Regions from separate parts of the Homo sapiens genome. Here regions 1, 2, 3, 5, 6 and 7 are each linked to region 4. The links are contacts of gene promoters, found by promoter capture Hi-C in blood cells and fetal thymus (Javierre and others, 2016). All regions are on one chromosome and are shown on one strand. Each heading gives the region's core, a stretch centred on a gene start or on the middle of the fragment in contact. The rest is flanking DNA. Distances are from core to core; before and after follow the strand shown.

Region 1 (2,700 bases), core at 70-2,569, 800 kb after region 4:
GATTACCCAAAATTACAAGATTAAGAGTTAATATTTATACTGCACTTCTGAGCATAGCCTGCTGCCTAACTTTCCTCTGTATATTTTTGTTATGCACAGAGCAGGACTAAAGAACAGTGATGGTGTTCTGATATCTTTGTACTCTTATTAGTGGACTTACATTATGAGTTTCTGGAGCTGCCTGCTCAATGAACATAAACCATTACCTTTTTACCACTAACACCTCATCTTATTGTGCTAGAGCTGGGATTTTCTAAGGAATAATGGCAGATGGCAGTAAAGTGCCAACTGCTAGCAGTCCGGAATAATTTTACATGCAAATTGTACCGAAAAAAAAAAAAAAAAAAAGCAAGCCCTATCTTCTGCTTCACAGGAGACATGAGTTCTACAACTATCTCTATAGATGTTCCCTGTGACCTGATTAGAAGACAATGTGCACAGTGGATAGGGACACAAGCCTTCAGAGCCAGACAGACTTCTGTCCAAATCTAAGCACTTCACATACCTAATAGCTGTGCTACCTTGGGCAAAGTACATACCTTCTCTGAATCTGTTTCCTCCTCTCTAAAATACTGACAACATTATCATTCATTGTGTTGTGCAAATTAAGAATTAATATAAAGTCTTAGTACAATATCCAACATAAAGTAAAGCATTCATTAAATGGCAGTGGTTTTCCTTCATTAAATGATAGTGGTTTTCTTACTGATCACAGGCTGCTGTCTTCGACCCACTGACTGGACATCCTTCCCCACTGCACGAAATCCTTTTTTCAAGGTCACATACAACCTTCTTTTCCCCAGATTCTATAGGCAATTGTCTTGTATTTCAGAAACATTTGAAACGTTTAACCATATTCTTCTTGAAACACTTTCTTTCCTAGTTTAACAACCACACTCTTCTGGTTTCCCTCCTACCTCACTAAACATTCCTTTACTAGTTACTTTCACTTGGATCCCAAAATGTGATCTGGGACCCTTTTCTCTATCTGTACTCTTCTTGGTGATCTCACTTAGTCTCAGGGGCTTTAAACTGATGACTCTTTAAGCTGATGATTCCCAAATTGACAACAGCAGCTCTAATCCTTCCTTGGGTTTCAAATTCAATAATCCAACTGCCTCCTCATCGCTTCCACTTGGTTGTCTAAAAGAGATCTCAAACGTAAAATGTCCCAAATGAATTCTTAATTACACACACACACACACACACACACACACACACACACACACACAAGCCTGTTCCTCAGTCTTCGACATCTAAGTACATTGTACTACCATCCATGAATTGTTGACACCAACACCTAGGCATCATCCTAAACAGATTCCTCTGTCTTCCTCACACCCACGTCCCACCCATCTGCCCCTGCCTGTTCTCCTGCTTAAAACTCTCCACACTGAGAATAAAAATCCAAACTCTAATGTCATTTTCTACCACCCTCCCCATTGTCACTCACACTTCAAGCGCTTCCACCTCACTGTTCCTTTCCTACCCCTCTCCCAACCACTTCAAGCTCAGTGACGGCACAGTTGCTCTTTTTACCTAAAATGTTCTTCTCCCAGACAGATGCATGACTTGCTTCTGGTCATTCTTCAGGTCTCAGCTTGAATGTCATCCCCTCAGAAACCATTCCTGATTGTCTTAGCTCAAGTAACTCTCTCTTCATCAGACTCTCTGCACCACCATCCGGTTTTATTTTCTTCATAATTAATGACATTTTGAAATCATTGTTTTATTTATCTCCTATCGTCTTCTCCCTTCATCTAGAGAAGAAGCCACTATAAGGCAAGGATTCTGCTAATTCATCACAGAGTCCCTGGCTCTTAGGAGAGCAGCAGGCTCATGAGAGACAGTCAAATATTTTTTGATTGTGTGAAAGTTGATCACACAAATTAGGTCATTCTTGTCATAGCCAACTAAAACAGAGTCATGAGGCCAGGGGGAGAAAGCACTCAGGGCATATAACATTGCTCAAAAAATGTAATTCTCTACAAGCCTGGATGCTGAAACTGCTTGCTATATAAACTTAGACCAGTTTTATATCTAATCGTTGCTGAAACAACCTGCTACAACTTTTAATACTAGTTTTACCCACCACTGTCACTCACCAACCAAAACTTGCCAGCTCCCTAAACTTTAATAGTGCCAATTAATTTCCTCAAAGAACAAGACATAACATTTCTCCTTTCTATAAAACCTCCAGCCTCCTCTTTATTCTTCAAGCATACCAAAGACAACCTAGCCTGCCTGTATGCTCCAAATTGCAATTCTTTCTTCCCAAATAAAACATTAAATTTAGAGATTCATCTCTACATTTTTATTTTGACTTTGACAACTGACTGAATAAACAAGGTAAGGAATAAATGACCTTGCAGCCACTTACTATGTGGATAACCCGCAAGCAAGTTACCTAACCTCTGTCAGCCTCATGTTTCTCATACAAGGATAGAAATCCCCCAGGGCTGCCTTGATGCTAAACGGAGAAAATAATAATTAAGAAACAATGAGAATACTAGGAACTAAAAATTACTGTCTCTCTGTGCCAGGCATAGTGCTTCACAACATTTTGAGATAATAGGGTTATCCCCATTTTACAAGCAAGGAAATTAAGGCCTGCAGAGCCTTATGAACCTATCCATAGTCCCACAGGTAGTCAGTGGCAGAGCTAGGAATCACAGCCAGGATGACTAACTCAGAACCCAT
Region 2 (2,808 bases), core at 157-2,656, 770 kb after region 4:
TATTATATGCTATATACAGTATCATTTGACTTCTTAAATTCTTCACATGTATCACTCTAGGTCTATAAATTAAATTTTGTAACTGACTCTGTGATCTCATAATTCCACATTTAAGGCTCTAGGCAGTTGTTTAGTTACCCTGACACTACAGGCATCATTGAATTCAATAATGTAATAAAAACTGAAAATCACAATTAAATGATCAATCTACTAAAAAAAATATGGCTTGGCATATTGTAAACAGGAATGCAGTCTCCATCCAGCAGTCCCTTAACGAGAACCAAAAGTCCCTGCGTTGAGTGACAGGAATATGTGTTGGTGGTTTTAAGATGAAGATTTTAAAATATTAAATGCTGTCTTTAGAGTTCCTTCCCCTTCCAAAATTCACCACAGCTACTCCTTTATTTCATTGTATTTTATATGCTTCCATGCTCAATGCATTTAAATACAGTTAGAGAAATTTTGCACTTCTTTTCAGAGAATTTGAAGGGAGAATTAATGATAGCTACCTTCAAACTGACCAAATTGTTAAAACAAGAGCAATGATTAGCTCCTAGTAAAACACTTGTTTGGTATTTTTTCTTCACTTCTTAGCCCCTTTTACTCACAATCGTCATGTCAAGAATCCCAGAAATGCACATCAGACTGTGTTTCAGTCTTTGTGCGCCAAACTTGTCTATTATACCAAAAGGATTTCCATAAAGCAGACAAACACCAGAGAGCAACAGACACTATGGGTCATACCCTGAGCGGCCAACCCTGTCTCTAGCTTCAGCAGGAAAGAGTTGTAAAAATCAAGAGATTCGGGAGGCCGAGGCGGGTGGATCACCTGAGGTCAGGAGTTTAAGACCAGCCTGGCCAACATGGCAAAACCCTGTCTTCACTAAAGATACCAAAAAAAAAAAAAAAAAAAAATTAGCCAGACGTGCTTGCTTGAACCCAGGAGGCAGAGGTTGCAGTGAGCCGAGATCTCAACACTGCCCTCCAGCCTGGGCAACAGAGTGAGACTCTGTCCCAAAAAAAAAAAAAAAAAAAAAAAAAAAGGAAGAAAAATCAAGAGATTCTTAGCAGCTGATAAAAATAAAATAATTTGCCTTCTAAACTCCTTCCTCTCAGACATACAACTTGTTTTTTGTCTTTTGGAGGATGAACGGAGAAACAATCTCCCAGGGGTTGAATCTATGTGAACCAAAAGAGGGCGTACAAAATAGACTTTGCCCTCCAGCTAGTTGAGGTGATATGTACATCCATGACATATATGCTGCCCTCAATGCAGCCAGTATTTCTTTCATATTGCAACCAGGCTTACTAAGTCTTTACTGAGTGCCTACTGTGCTCATGACTCTACCAGACATTAGGCAAGACACATACACAGTGTGTCTTCATGTGAATATCTAGGTGGGATACTCACAATTGAGCCATCCAATCCTAGTTTTCTCCAATGAATCCCTCGGTGCCTTCATACAACACCAACCGCCCCTTCTCTAAAGCTCTATTGCACCTCACACTGAGCTCGGCTCAGCACAGTGCCCAATACAGAGTTGGTGCATAACAAATACGAAAGACTGTGTTAAACTACATATGACCATGAATATGCCGTATATATAAATCCATATATCAGGAGAGAGCTTTCCTGACCACCCAATCTAAAATGGTAGCCTCTCCTCCTTGCCTTACTCTTATTTGTCTTCATCTTACTGAGTGACTTTAGACTACCTGCCATTGTCTTTTTCTTCCCACCGGAGTGGCATGACAGTAATGGTGTGCCAAGGATGAGGGGATGGGAATTGCTCACCCCAGGTGCAGGCAATAAGGAAATGCATTGTCTGTAGACAATTTGAAAACAATACTAAGCCTACAAAGAGTCAGTCTGCTTTTTATTATCACCATGCATCACCAATTCTAAGAAAAATGCCTGGGTGCCCTGCCAGGGCAGACTGTACCCACCACACTGCCCTTGGGGAGCTACTGGCAGGGATTATATCTGTTTTGTTCACTGTTTTACCCCATCCTCCAACTATAAAAATGGTTGTTATTTAAAGTATTTCCTCCAATTTTTCATGTATATGATTTATCTTTCCGCATGAACTTTCACATTAAGAATATGTCTTCCTACTCTGTGTGTGAGTGTATGTGTGTGCATGTGTGTGTGCATGTGTGAGTGCATGTGTGCACGCACATGTGGGCATGTGTGAGTGCATATCTGTGTGTACGTGTGAGTACATGTGTGTGTGCGCGTGTGCGTACGTGTGTGTGAGTGCATGTGTGTGCGCGTGTGTGTGCACATGTGTGCATGCTGTGCATGTGTGTGTACATGTGCACTCCATAGTGCTCCAATGGGGAGACTGTGACAGGCACTCAATAAATACTTGATCAAGGTCAGTTAGGGCTTGTAACCACCATCTAGAAGTTGATACAGGAAAGGGTTTTGGCAGAAATGTTGTCAATGAGTATGGTTGCCCAAGAAAACCATTTCATGATATGGCAGCAAAAAACAAGGCAAAGAAGATGCCACTCCTCCCCTCCAGCTCTGTGCTGGCAGACTGCAAGGATCTGACCCTTTCACACCCCTCCGCTGCTGCTTTAGATGTAGAGAAACTTTTTTGAGAACCTACTCTGAGCCAGGCACCATGCTAACCCTTTGCATGTGTGTCTCATTTAACCTCCACAACTCTCATATGAAAAGGTACCATCATTGTACTTAATCCTCAGGCAATGAAACTGAGGTTTGGTCTGGCGCGGTGGCTCATGCCCGTAATCCCAGCACTTTGGGAGGCCGAGGCGGGTGGATCACAAGGTCAGGAGTTT
Region 3 (2,852 bases), core at 327-2,826, 750 kb after region 4:
TCACTGCTCTACTACTGTACAGATCTATGCATCCTGGGATCTCAATTTGGATGGCTGCTATTATAATGAATAACACAAGAGTTTCTAAATTTTCCTCTAATTCCAGAAACAGAAAAAATTAATGGGTCTCTTGGGAGAAGAGTGTTCATGTTCTTTGCACCTTCCCAATGGATCAAGTTACTGAGTCATTGACTACCCTTAAGAAGCCAATCAGTCAAAGGCTCCACAATCACAGTGCCTACCAGCAGCAAAAAGAAAATCCACTGAATGAAGAATTTGATAAAGACTACACATCTTATGCCATCTGGAAACTGCTTATTGACTCAAGTTTCTAGAATTAATCTGCTAATTTGTTCATCTAAAGGCTAGATGGGTAGAATTATGTAGATTTTACTACAGAGGGTAATAAGAACCGTCTTAGTTGAGAATAAAACATTTTTGGTGATGTTTTATGCTTCACTGTCAAAAACTCTGAAGAAAAAAAGTACAGCTAAGATATGAGCGTTAGGCTGAAATTTAGGGCAGCAATAATCAGAAACGGAATCAATCAGTAAGAGTTATACTGTTGATGATTATTCTGAACCTTAAACACCAATCTCTGATTATAGAAATCTGCTTACCTAAGAATGGCGATTCTGCTTCTGATATCAAAAGTTAAGTATAAAGTCAATTAAACTGGCTTTTTAAAAGTTCTTTGATAGCATTGAAACATAATTCAGAAAAAAATTGATAAAATTTTAATGCCCTAACTGAACTGTTTTTAGGTTACTTAAGAAAATGATATTTTTGTAACAAATTAGACCTAACTATATAAGAAAAGATGGGTGTTTTTCTGTCTCATTGATATAAATAGTGAAATTAGGAGGGCCTGAATTCTAAACTGGGTAAATATTGCCTTCCTTTTTTGCTTAGGAAAAGTGAATTATGGCTAAATACTCAACATAAATCTGCCTCATTACTTTTGAGTTGATACCATCTGTGTTCTCCTTTGTTTCCATATACTCTGTGTTCTCCATATTTTTCTAGATTATTGGAGCCAAGATAGGCTGTTCAAACAAACTTAAAAATGTTTTCAAATAAGAAGAGGGATAACACTTACCTTGAAAACTTGATCAACTTGATGCATAGAGCCTGGGAAGCAGTTAAGTTTTAATTAAAGCATTGAGCCTGCGTGTGACAGTTTCATACCTCGGTGCTCATATTTCTTACAAAACATGGAATGTTCCCCAAAAGATAATCTAAGGAAGGCCAAGCCTCAAAGCCAAAACCCATGGACCCCTCATTTCTTTTTCTAATTGCACACAGTAGAAAAGACACAAAGTCATGACATTTCAATGATACAATGAGCAATGAGCTTCCTTTAGCTTATTAAACACACCAACTCCCAAAGTCTGTTTAACTCCCTAGATTTTCTTTTAAGGAAAATATTTCTTCCCTCTAGTACATCCACCATGAAAGTCCTAGTGATAAGCTTTACAGTATTTGAATTTGGAAAATTTTAAAATTTGAATTTGGAAAATTTTAACTTAAGTTATAGCCCAATGAAAATTCTAGAAGGCTTAAGTAGGTAAATTACATGCTAAGAAATAAAGAAGTCTAAAGGATGTTTAAGAGTAATAATATAGGATTGCACATTTATTTCTTGAAACTATCTTATGTCATAAAAATTGGGTGAAGCTTTTCCACTTTTTTAGGATGTTTTGTATGATTTGACTTCAGACTCCTTAACATAAAGAAACCATCTACCACGATTGCTGCAGGATATATTGTCAGTGAACTTGGTAATATTCATTCACAGCATATACGTGGGGGGTGGTCATTGGCTCACAATTTAATGTGGCCCCCAGAAAAGTATTTTATGGCATTATAAGTTAACTGCAGGATTAAGTGTTAGTGATTTGGGGAATGTTTATATTCCAGTTTTTAGTTTAAACTGGGCATGTGATCCCAGAAAGATTCCTTCTTTCTCCATCATTTAGTGGTTAAATTATAATCAGGTGGAACTATAAGTCTGGCTTTCTGAAGGCCAGAAACCCATATTCCAACTATTTATTTGTTAGGATGTAAAAAATGAGGAGTAAGACAGACACTTTCTCACTGATTTGCCCCACTTGACCAGAGGTGACATCAAAGCTCCAGTGCTTGAACTCAGTACTGAGATTTAGCACTGTCTTTCTCCCCTCACTCTCCAGCCCACTCAAGCCACTTACAGTTTTTCATAATGACTGTTTAATAAGCTGTGCCAAGGAACACTATGGCATGGTTGCCACTTCAGAGCAGGAGAGCACTGGTCTGTAGGCATTCTGTTCTGTCCCTCACTGTCAGGGTCCTGGACTTCACTGCTGCGACTCCTACTTGTCACTGCAAAGAAACAGGTGCGTCAGAGCCTTCCTTCCAGGCTGTTTTTCCTAAACTCACAGCTAGCAGCATGAAGCTGATGAGTGGGCCATGTGTAAGGCAGAGTGACTAGGGAAGTGTCATGTGCTGGGGGTAGGAGGTGTGTTGCTGACCTCATTTTCTCATCTGTGAAAGGAGCAGCCTGGGGTCAGCGTTGTCAAAGGGTGGGGGGTAAACACCTGTTGGAAACTTTGTCCCTGATATCTATCTACCCTACATCCTGCATAGCTTCTCCTCACTTTCAGTCTGTGTGGTTGCAGTGAAGTTCATTCCCAGAGCCGGGAGGATAGGTGACCCAGCTCAATCAACCAAAGTACAGCATTCAGTCCTTGCATCAGTAATTGCATCAGTGGTGGACATGTGGCCTATCCCAATTCAAGCAGAGTGGATCTCAGCACTTCAGGGATGCTCACTCTTCTCCATGAGGTTTGAACCTGCAAGATACATCGCCAACA
Region 4 (2,873 bases), core at 182-2,681:
AATAAATGTCATCAGGTGATGACTGGATGAGCTGCTGAAGACATTCGTATTATGTGTTAGATGCTTTAATGTTTGCAAAATCTGTCTTGTGAATGGACTGTCAGCTGTTAAACTGTTCCTGTTTTGAAGTGCTATTACCTTTCTCAGTTACCAGAATCTTGCTGCTAAAGTTGCAAGTGATTGATAATGGATTTTTAACAGAGAAGTCTTTGTTTTTGAAAAACAAAAATCAAAAACAGTAACTATTTTATATGGAAATGTGTCTTGATAATATTACCTATTAAATGTGTATTTATAGTCCCTCCTATCAAACAATTACAGAGCACAATGATTGTCATTGGGTATATATGTATTTACTCTCTATTATTGGGCATAAAGGTGGCTTCTGCTCCAGAACTCTATCCACTGTATTTCCACATCGTGAGTCATTTTACTTTAAAAGGGAAAAACAAATTTGTAGCAACTCTGAAGTATCAAGAGTTTTAACTACTTGTCTCTCTTTTGCTAAGAAGGGATTTTTGAATATGCTATCTACCTGGAATCTCTCTCTCAACAAAAGGTATATGCCTTCAGGAATGATATAATCTGTCCCATTTTCGAGGCTCCTTATAAGGACATTTCCATGTATGTCCTTACATTTCTGAAAGCTTTCAATCTTCAAGAGACAAAAAAAATTAAAATAACTACCCTCAGCAAACACTAGCTGTTCTGCTCATATATGAATTTTTAATGCAGCAATGTTGACTTTGTTTCATACTGCCAATAAACTCTTAATACTAAATACTGAGTAAAGCATATTCTTTTTTTTTTTTCTATTTGGAAAGACGCCATCCTCTGTTTGGGGAAGACCAAAGTAGATAATGTGATGGGTTTAATTTTAGTGTCTGCATCTCCCCAGTGAAGATGACGATCTCAAAATGTAATATTGTCATCACTTGGGAGATAATGATCTAGAAGTGCCATCATTATGTGGTTTTCCTCAATAGACTCGCAGCATATCATTATACAAACAGTACATGTTTATGTCTTTATATCACTTGTCATAGACCCTCATCAATTACATGGCTTATGTTTATTCAGCAGAATCACATCACCTGAAGAGATGTAATGTTTCAGGAACATTCAATTATCTGAGATTTCAATTCCTTTCTTTCTTCTTGAGGTTAAGAAGCAGTCACATGCCAAAGGAAAGGTAGGTGAGGTCTTAACGAGATTTACTCTGCTCTTGAAGGCTGGAATATTTTCTACATTAAAAAAAAGAGGTAATCATAATCCCTTCTTTCTAAGGAAACAGACAAAAGGACACTGGTGTAAAACTTCCCCAAACAATTCAATAGGAGGAAGTGCTCGTCACTGACTTTTCCCCCCACCATGAAGGCACATTTCCTTCCTAGTCTTTGCTTCTCTTATCTGGGAGAATTTTTTTTTTCCCCAAGCGAAGCATGAACAGTTGCTAAGTGGAAAATGGAGGCTGAATTTTACATGGTGATTCTTACCTGCTTGATCTTCAGGAACTCAGGTGAGTGGGTCTGCCTCAGTGTCCTGAGGCATTTCTTCAAGATCTAGCCAAGGAGTCCCTGGTCTTTGAAGTGTCTGAAATAAGGTAGAAGGGGCCAGGTCTCCATGGCAGTTTAGCCAAAGACGATGAAAAGCAGGAATAAAAGGAGCCAGCTATGCCCATACTGTTGAGATTTCTCTCCAAAAGAAAATAAATGCTCTCCTCTCATCCTCCAAATGCTTCAGGCAGCCCCTGAAATGATACATTTAGAGCAGAGCGTAAAGAACCCCGAGGAAAAGTTTGTATTATTATATAACAGTCTGTGGCTTTCCCCAAGCCTTTTTCCGACCCGGTTATAGTTTTATTTTCTTTTGTGTTGAAGAAAGAAAATTGAAGGAATATGATTAAAGGGGGTGAGGAAATGTAGTGTGTTTTATTTGGAAGTTGTCATTTGGGAGGGCTGAACATTTTCATGAGCGAGCTGGGCAATTTAAGTAAAACCTCATTGAAAATGGTTTCTGAGCCAGAGTATCTTGCTCTTTAATACTGATGTTTAGCAATTTGATGTTTAATTTTCTTACACTGGCACATGATGATTTTTAGAAAATCTATTCGTATTTGAGAGAAAACTGTAGATATTGTCATAAAATAGAGAAATGCTCCTCTCCACGACTAAAGGAAATTTAGTTTGTGATAATCAATACTTTCATTGGCTGCAATTAGCTAGGAGGTTGTGCTTGGAGAAGTGGGAAAATTTGTTTTATTTTTTGATAAATGTATGCAATTTTAAAAAATTGTTATTCAAACTATGAAATTTGTATATAAATACTGCAATGTGAATTTAAAGACTGGAAAAGGGGGTGCTTTTTTAAGGTAAGGGAGGAAGCTTATATCGAATATGTCAAATGGTTAAAAAGGGAGCTGAGCATTTCATAACTTCAGCATATCTAACTAATTGGGCTAAAATATACTATATACTTTGGATGGTTTTGTTTCTTTCCAAGCTTCCTTTCATTTTCCAATAAGAGGTGTGCTTTTTTCCCCTAAAGCATGTGAAAATTAAAAAAAAAAAAAAGATGGGGAGTTAAGTGTAACATATTGACATTTTATATCGTCAGCTTTGGAATTTTAAATCACATGTGTTAAATATGAGAATGTTCACTTGAAATGATAGAAATAACAAAATATAAGTAAAACTAGTGATTTTATTTAGCTCATTTGTGGGTGGGTTCTTCCGTTTTCTAATGGGCCTCATAATTTGCTACATAGTGCTTTATGAGCTTTTCATCTTCCAGAAGGGTTTCAGATTGTCCATGTCCAGAAACAACAGTGTCTTTTCAAAAATGAGAAAGTGGTCGTGGGCTCATGCAACAGG
Region 5 (2,737 bases), core at 1-2,500, 820 kb after region 4:
TTTTGTAAGTTCCCACTGTAAGTGGAAAAACGTTGGCTCCTTATTTCAGACAATAAAAGGTCTTCGTTTGATATATGATCAGATTATATTCATTTAGATCAATGGTTCTCAATCAGGGAAGATTCCACCACTACCACCACCACCACTCCTCATTCCCTGGCCACTCCAGGGTACGTTTGGCAATGAATAGAAACATTTTTCACTGTCCCATCTCGGGGGTGCTACAGGTATCTAATGAGTAAAAGCTAGGGATGCTATTAAACATCTTACAAATGCACAAGACCGTCCCCCACAACAAAGAATTATCCAGCTCAAAATGTCACTAGTACCAAGGTCGAGAAATTCTGCTTTAGATTTAGCTGCCCTAAATCCTTTGTTGGCACAAGGCACATATAATAAACAGATTTTAAGACTAATACCTGTTTACAACAAACACACATACTAAATGATATGTACTAAATATCATAAAGTGGAAGAGTGACAGAAACCAGAGAAGATATACTACTTTTATTATCAACACCCTCACCATTCATTACTCGTAACACTTTCTTCCTATTTTCATAAAGTAAATTATCTTTCTGTCTTTCCAAGCTTCTTATTTAAACAAACAGAAAAATATTATATTCTTGGCAATTATACTTAACATAAATTTTCTGTTCTCTGGCTTAAATTATATTATCCATCAACAGGTATTCAAAAAGAATTCAGTTTTATTAAAGTCAAAAAAAGTATTACACAGTTTAAAGACTGTTTTTATGTTATTAGGCCTTTTGAAATTCAACATTAATTAGGTTATCAGGTTATTAGGTTAACAGGTTTTATCTCTAATGTTTTAGGCATTAAAATCCAACTATATGGGATTTTAAAGAAATATGACATTTTTCAACATACCAGACCTTGAGAAAGGCTAAACTAAGTTTTTATCAGCGTGACTAACTTCTCCATAGAATTAAGATTCACTGCTTTACATGATTGAAAGATGGTAGGCTTCTACCAGTGTTTAAGCAAGATAATATTTTCAGTGCCTAAAAAATATAAACAGGGAAATTTTGTAAAACTTTAAATACTAACTGGCACAGACTTGTCCCTAGCCTAGTATCTGCTATTTTTTTTTTTAAACTATCATTTGTGCTCGAGAGATACTGCTTTGGAGCTGTCAGGCCATATTAGTTTTCATGCCTGATATTTAAGATATTTAGCTATAAAATTGTATTAAAAATATTAACACACTTTCATGAGGTTGGTTCTCCTGGATATATCACCTGCACATTTCTGCTGATTTAGAATATGGCAATCTTTATTCCATTCAGAATTATCCTCATGACTGCTTTATTAATTCACACGCAAAAAGTAGAAAATACAGGGAAAACTTAATTTTGAGCTCCATGATGGTTTCCATCAATTAAAATAAATCTGACCACTTTGCTGGCCTACTCATTTTCATCTCTTAAAGAGTCAATTCAATGAGCTTAGAACTCTCTTCTCATTTACCATCTGGTTTATCATATACCCCTTATGAGTTAAAACTGACCCTGCTTAAAATTCAAAATTAAGAGTAAAATGAGGCAAATAAAATAATTAAACACAATATTTTTCTAAAAGACATTTGTTCCCAAATTCTCCACAAATTTTATTAGAACTATAGAAGGGATTCAATATAAATGTACCAACAATAAAGCTGATATGAGCATTACTACTATTCTATACTTTTTGTTGAACTTTACTTATACTTTTTGCTGAACTTTTATGTAAAGACTTATATTGAATCAAGAACACTCACCATCCTGCTGTTTCACGAGTCCCTGCTGAATGTATCGAATGTATGTAAAAAAGTTACATACAGAAGTGATCTAGGCCAAATGGAGAAAATGTCATGAATGGTCAAATGTCCCATATCAAAGCAAGCTTTATTAAAATTCATGGTTAAGTCACTTACCCTGTATCTGCAAAAAGGAGAAATATAATAATAGTTGCTTGAGTCCCCTAATTTAATTCTGTGTTTACAGGACTTACTCTGGCCAGTGAGAGCACATTTTCTGTGAAATAATGATAAATTTCAGTTTTTTGAAATGAAAAGCATTTGCCCCTACCTTCTGTACAAGTTGCCTATTCATTCAGTTAGATAACAAATATTTGAGAACCTACTGTGTACCAGGCACCGTTCTAGATGCTGGGCTAAAGTGATGAAAAGGACAAAGTCTCTGCCCTTGTGAGACTTACATTCTATTAGTAGTATAAGTTTAATGCCATAACATTAACCATGATTCTAGAAACAGAAACTAGGTGTTTTCCATGTATGTCCCATCTTGGAACAAATTTACAAATCAGTAATCAGCTGCAGGACAGCTCTCAGCTTTCCATCAGGATTTCAGCTTCTCAGCTGAAAATATCCTCATGATGACTGTTCAAGTCTCAAAGCATGTTATTGATAGCTTGCAGGGTAATAGTTTCCAGATGGGGTATTTGTTTATTTGGTTGGTTGGTTGCTCTATATGCATTTAATGTGGGACCTAGGGAGAAGTACAAAGGAATAAGCCACCTTATAAAAATACTGAATCTTAACAATCATGTAACAAGTTCACTGAATTTCACATGATCCTTTCTATTTGCATATGACAAAAGCTAAAATTTTATATGAGGGCTTTCTGGCTGGGATTAGGCTATCAACCTCTTGAGGGCAGGGACTTTGATTCATCTTTAAATGCCTGGCACACAGCACACATTCAATGACTGCTGA
Region 6 (2,700 bases), core at 64-2,563, 730 kb after region 4:
GAAATTCACACATCTGTCATCAGCATCATCAACATTACCATCATCTCCCTCATCTCTGTAATAAACAGTGGACTGGGACAGACAAGATTTCTACAAATATATATCTCAAAAATGTGCACAGATTTATCAAAACAAATCTATTAATATGAAATCATTTAATAAATAAATTACATGTAATTTTTATTTTGTATAAATAGAAAATAATTTCTCTTTGCTTAGACTTGTCTGGCTAAAAAATACCTTACATATATGAGTTTAGAAAAATCTCTTAACCTGGGTAAAATGAATATGAGCATTTCCTGTTCACAGACAACAAAACAGAGTCACAGATCGCCTCTCGGCCAAAGTTCCTGGGCTGGTGGTTGCCAGAGTCAGGACTAAACTCTTAGACTTCTAACCACGGACCAGGATTTTCTTTATTCTATCATGCTGCCATGAGCAGGAAGGGGATACAGAAATTTCACATTTAGAGCCTGGATTGAAGTGACATTTCATTTAGATGGAGAAGGCTTTTTAGAAGGGATGTGAGAAGTTCTCCAGAAGCTTGTTATTTTAAGACAATATATTTTCTTCAAACCAACAAGCAATATTTGAAGACTTTTTGTAAATGAAGTTCTGTGTTATGCCTGGTGGTAGCAGGAAGGGTTGTACAGGACTTTTCTCACTTGTTATATTCAATTTACATTTTAGTAAGACTTGGTAGTGAATTGTATAGCCAATTGCAAGGATAAATTTGAGTTGGTGTGACCTGAAATGCAGACAGATGATCTCTCTCTAAAGTTCAAAGTCACAATATCTAGGACTGACATCTGGAAATGTATGTAAGAACTCTCTAGCTCTGCATTCCCATCTGGCTAGTAGGTCACAGCTCTTCTAATATGAACCGCAGCTTCACAATCAGTATAAAAGTCTACAATTACAACCATTCTTTGGAATCCTCTAAGCAAAGGAGGACATTCCTTGGCTGGTTTAGGAAAACCAGTGCAGATTTGCACTGAGAAAGGAATGCAGTCTGGAAGAGGGGCTAATAGTGAACAGATTAGGACTTCTATTAGCTAAAAAGGGATAAGGAAAGGAGAGAAAAGGAACTTTTAAAACACAGCTTCACAAATGCTGTCAAGAGAAGTAGTATGAGTGAGATGATGGGGAAGTGGTAGAAGCAATGCATGGGAAATAATTAAATGGCAGAAAAGTTGGAATGAGGTGTTAGTAGCTGGCTGATGGATTGGAAGCTTAATCCTCATCCTTATGGTCTACATAGCAGTTGTAGCTTTCCAAGATGATTCAGTTCAACTGGTTAAAAAATAAAAAAGAGCCAAGGGTGTCAGGCAGGCAGGCAGGCACCATTTTCATCTTATAGCTGAAGACACTGAGTTCAAGGAGATTAAGCTTTTTATCCAGGGTCACGTAACTGGGGAGAGCCCAAAGCGGAGAAGCCATCTCCTGACATCTAGGCCTGACTTCTGGTTTCCTCTAGGTAACTGCCTCTCCACGGAGGAAAAAGGTCTTCACCCGGAACTCTTGGCGATGAACTGACCAAGTAAGGGATGAGGAGGAGGAGCTTCTCAAGAGTTCCTAGAGAAAGACGATGCCTGGGGAAGATAATGGCCAGTAGAGTTGGTGCCAGGGACTCTAGAAGGAAGAGGCTGGAGACATCCAAGAGAAATATGATCAGGAACTGGACTGAGACAGTGCTTGGAAGATGAGTGGGGAGACAGAAAGGAAAAGGCAAGCTCTGGAAGCTGACAAAGTATGGAAGGAAGGGCAATGGCCTGTGGAAAATAACTGAGACTTGCTGCCTGTGAGGCCAATGACATGCTGTCTTTGCCCACTGCTCCTGTCAGGTAAATCCATTCTCTCAGGGAGGAACTGCTTTACAATTTCAGCAGAGATGCCCAGCAGCTCAGTCATCATTTTTAAGCAGTGTGTTCATCTCACACCAGTGGGTGACATGTAAAGATGTGCGGTTCAAGGTGTGTCAGAGGCCAGGAGCACCCAGCAAACCTGACTGGGGTGTCAGAGGAGGGGCCCAGGGCCTGAATCTGTGCTCACCTCCTGGATATTCTGCTTTGCCCGGCTGTCAGAGGGATGCATGATGGTCCCCATCACTTTCATGTTGCCACAGACAACCAGGGCTTCGTCCGGCGCATCTGTGTTGATTCCTACTCGACCGTGACAGACAATAGATTCTGGAACTTGTCCTCGCTGCCACAATGCATCACTGTCATTTTCAAACTGCCCAGGGTTAGAGGCCTGGAAAAATACATAAATATATTACAATTAAAGTAACAGTAGCAGGAATAGATGATCACATTAGTGTTCAGAGCAAAGGCAAACTGAATATTATCTAAGTCTTTCATAAGAGAATCCTGTATTGAGTGGGACATTCTGACATATCCAAGTAATTCCGGGGCCCAGGAGAGCCAGGGAGGCTTCCCTAACCACTCTGCCTCCCCGCTAGCAGGAGCTCTGTATACCCTGATTTGAAACATCCAATCTCTATTGCATCTATCTGGAATTAAGAATGTGATCAGTTATACTAGGTGGATGATAAAGAAGAAAACTAAAAATGGCTATCTTTCCAGGAATAGTCATCATCATCATGATTTAAAATCAGAACATTATATCAGAAAATATTACAGGTGTACTAAAGTCAGATAAATAAAAATACCTTGCATTTAGCTAGCCCTATTATAGTTT
Region 7 (2,700 bases), core at 157-2,656, 710 kb after region 4:
ACATATGCCCATTTCTCAGCCATAACAAAAAGCCTGGAAAGCTCTTATCAACTCACATTCCAACCCCATGACCTCTCCTCCTATCTTTCTCTCTGTTTGCAAGTTCAAAATCCCACAGCACTTTCTGAATTGCAGAGAGGCTGGTCCAAGGCTGAGTTCAAGGGCAATAGAGACTGTTTTGTGGTTGAGGGTCAAACTCAGGGCTATGTGCCTTTGAGATTCTTATCATCCAAACTGAAGCTTTGAGGGTTTCGAACACTGTAGAGCAATCACTCAGAAAGAATCAAAAGCTGAACATTCCAGATTCAAGGCTTAGTGTACGCAGTTCAAAGACAGATGTATCTCATGATACACTGGAGAACTCTCTGAAACTCCCAGAGCAGCCACACAGATCTGTTGAGGCCCCCTGAACACCCTGCACTCTCCAGTGTCTGAGACCTCATTCCCATAATTACCTAAGATAAAAATGCCTTTCCTCAAGGCCAGTCCAAATCCCATCATACCCAGTATCTCCCCAGAGACCACTAGTCAGAGAGCATCCCTCACTCTACAGTGTCCTCAAAGCATGTTCAATTCTATCACCTGGCCATTTGCCTTGTATCAGGTGTTATATGTCTGTCTCCCACCTGGATCATGAGTTTGTGGCAGGCAGAATTATGTTGATTTATTTGCATATCTCACCAGCATTTAGCACATGCCTTTGCCCACTGGAAATGCTCAGTAAGAATGGACACAAGTGAATTGAAAAGTGCTATGAGTTAGCAGCTTAGAGAAGCAGAAAACCTTTGTATTTGGGATGTAAAATGACCAAAAGCTTGATTTCTGAGGCCTATGTTTGCTTCAAGAAAACTTACCAAAAAAACACAAAAAATCCAACAACAAAAAAAATCATACTTGTATCAGCTTTTCAAATGTCATCAGAAAACCCTATATTTTTCCTGAAGTCTTACCATACATCCTTCAAAATCCATCCAAATAACAAATTGATAAAACCATCTGGAGTAGAATTTAGCAATATCTAGCAAAATTACATATATTTTTATTTTTGAGCCAGTACACCCACTTCTAGGAGTCTATTCCACAGATCTCCTGGAGAAAATTAAGAAATAAAAGAGACCACAATCAAACAAAATGTCCATTAATAGGGGAATTGATAATAAACTGTGGTACATTTGCATAGCAGTATACTATGCAACTGTAAAAAGAAAGGAAGAATATCTCTATATACTGTTATGGAGCAAAGTCTGTAGTATAAGAAGAATACAAAACATGTCTACATTTTCTTACATTAATAAAATGAAGAATAAACAAAAACTAACTTAAAATTGTTACACATAATGGAAAGGAAGAAACAAGATGGGTGAAATGGATAGAACCCAGATTCTCTGAATGTATCCTGTTTTTATAAATTAACCTTTAGAATATGTGGGTATTTTACGATTTTTTTTTTTTTTTTTTTTTTTCTGAGACGGAGTCCTGCTGTGTCACCCAGGCTGGAGTGCAGTGGCATGATCTCGGCTCACTGCAAGCTCTGCCTCCCGGGTTCACACCATTCTCTTGCCTCAGCCTCCTGAGTAGCTGGGACTACAGGTGCCCACCACCACGCCCGGCTAATTTTTTGTATTTTTAGTAGAGACGGGGTTTCACTGTGTTAGCCAGGATGGTCTTGATCTCCTGACCTCGTGATCCACCCTCCTTGGTATCCCAGAGTGCTGGGATTACAGGCATGAGCCACTGCGCCTGGCCCATATGTAGGTATTTTAAATATGTATAAAAAATAAACAAAATTTTTAAAAACATCCCCTAGAAACAGAAGGCAAAATAAAACAAATAAGCCTAATTGGGTATTGAGTTTCTGGTTTAACCTTACAGTGAAGATTGACATTAAGTGACTTCAAAACATAGTAATTTGACTGCCCATTCCCAGAGAGATAGAGCCTAAAGACAAAAAATAAAAATTTAAAAAAAAAATCAACCAGCAAGGGAATCTTAAGCTTTTCAATAATCATACTGTTAGTAATAATAGTGATGGATTATACACACATAGATAGCACACATATATATTTGGATAAAACAAATACATAGTTAATAGTGCTATAAACCAAGATTTTTAGCATTTAAGAAAAGAGATATAAACATAAAATTAAAACATTTAGTAAAACCCTAGCAAATCTAAATTTAAGTTAGAAATATTACTATTAATTTCTGATATATTTTATTTCTTAAAAGAAAAAGACATTTTCTAGCTACATTAACTAAAAAGGACTGGAAAAAAACTTCCCACCTACTAACCATGAAGACTCCTCATTGTAGTCTCTAAATACCATTCCCAGTGAAAGGACCCAGATTTTGAGTACTTTTCCAGATTTGGGGTAAGATATGTCTGAGGTGAACCTGGAACATCTTTCAATATGAGAAAATAAGGAAGCTATCACAGAGTACTGTGGTTGGGTCAAAATGACTCAGGAGCTAACTGAAGAAGCTCTCATTGGCCAAAGATAGAACATTAAAGGGCTAATTACCATGATAGAACAAAGAATCAAATGTGCTTTAAAAGCATCCAAAATCCTATTCAATTTTTAAAAATAGTTTATTATTTACCTTTGGGAGACATTAAGGGCTTAACTCATTTTTTTTAAATCTTGTAAATAAAAGAATAAAACTTTGTCCTGCCTGTCCTATATAACATCTACATATTTG

Evidence for each region. The method cuts DNA at HindIII sites, captures the fragments that hold promoters and counts their contacts. A CHiCAGO score of 5 or more calls a contact.
Region 1: a contact is called between a fragment that was not itself captured here and the fragment with the promoter of PTPRB in region 4, in 3 of 17 cell types (non-activated CD4 T cells, M1 macrophages and M2 macrophages). The highest score is 5.4, in non-activated CD4 T cells.
Region 2: a fragment that was not itself captured here is called in contact with the fragment with the promoter of PTPRB in region 4 in 4 of 17 cell types (total B cells, M2 macrophages, M1 macrophages and 1 more); the score reaches 6.1 in total B cells.
Region 3: a contact is called between a fragment that was not itself captured here and the fragment with the promoter of PTPRB in region 4, in 11 of 17 cell types (fetal thymus, total B cells, total CD8 T cells and 8 more). The highest score is 10.7, in fetal thymus.
Region 5: a contact is called between a fragment that was not itself captured here and the fragment with the promoter of PTPRB in region 4, in 5 of 17 cell types (M0 macrophages, naive B cells, non-activated CD4 T cells and 2 more). The highest score is 6.1, in M0 macrophages.
Region 6: a contact is called between a fragment that was not itself captured here and the fragment with the promoter of PTPRB in region 4, in 11 of 17 cell types (fetal thymus, activated CD4 T cells, naive CD4 T cells and 8 more). The highest score is 9.8, in fetal thymus.
Region 7: a contact is called between a fragment that was not itself captured here and the fragment with the promoter of PTPRB in region 4, in 4 of 17 cell types (total B cells, naive CD8 T cells, activated CD4 T cells and 1 more). The highest score is 9.9, in total B cells.

The regions. Positions count from the first base shown.
Region 1 is chr12:69,831,477-69,834,176 of GRCh38, reverse strand. The region is part of intron 1 of MYRFL (myelin regulatory factor like); the gene reads right to left. Among named protein-coding and RNA genes, the nearest start is that of MYRFL, 7.6 kb to the right of the region's middle. The HindIII fragment of the contact is 5,618 bases long and covers 1-2,700 here.
Region 2 is chr12:69,868,335-69,871,142 of GRCh38, reverse strand. All of the region lies in intron 2 of MYRFL (myelin regulatory factor like), which reads right to left. Among named protein-coding and RNA genes, the nearest start is that of MYRFL, 45 kb to the right of the region's middle. The HindIII fragment of the contact is 7,246 bases long and covers 1-2,808 here.
Region 3 is chr12:69,886,329-69,889,180 of GRCh38, reverse strand. MYRFL (myelin regulatory factor like) reads right to left here. Exons shown (of 25, transcript NM_182530.3): 6 at 2,211-2,361. Among named protein-coding and RNA genes, the nearest start is that of MYRFL, 63 kb to the right of the region's middle. The HindIII fragment of the contact is 206 bases long and covers 1,474-1,679 here.
Region 4 is chr12:70,635,987-70,638,859 of GRCh38, reverse strand. It overlaps PTPRB (protein tyrosine phosphatase receptor type B), which reads left to right and starts at 1,431. Exons shown (of 34, transcript NM_001109754.4): 1 at 1,431-1,519; 2 at 2,794-2,873. The coding sequence starts at 1,465. PTPRR (protein tyrosine phosphatase receptor type R) reads left to right here. Exons shown (of 14, transcript NM_002849.4): 14 at 1-781. The HindIII fragment of the contact is 1,737 bases long and covers 650-2,386 here.
Region 5 is chr12:69,812,077-69,814,813 of GRCh38, reverse strand. It overlaps RAB3IP (RAB3A interacting protein), which reads right to left. Exons shown (of 11, transcript NM_022456.5): 9 at 1,937-2,036; 10 at 1,781-1,850. Among named protein-coding and RNA genes, the nearest start is that of MYRFL, 12 kb to the left of the region's middle. The HindIII fragment of the contact is 1,314 bases long and covers 594-1,907 here.
Region 6 is chr12:69,903,197-69,905,896 of GRCh38, reverse strand. It overlaps MYRFL (myelin regulatory factor like), which reads right to left. Exons shown (of 25, transcript NM_182530.3): 11 at 2,053-2,253. Among named protein-coding and RNA genes, the nearest start is that of MYRFL, 79 kb to the right of the region's middle. The HindIII fragment of the contact is 157 bases long and covers 1,235-1,391 here.
Region 7 is chr12:69,922,954-69,925,653 of GRCh38, reverse strand. The region is part of intron 13 of MYRFL (myelin regulatory factor like); the gene reads right to left. Among named protein-coding and RNA genes, the nearest start is that of MYRFL, 99 kb to the right of the region's middle. The HindIII fragment of the contact is 1,180 bases long and covers 817-1,996 here.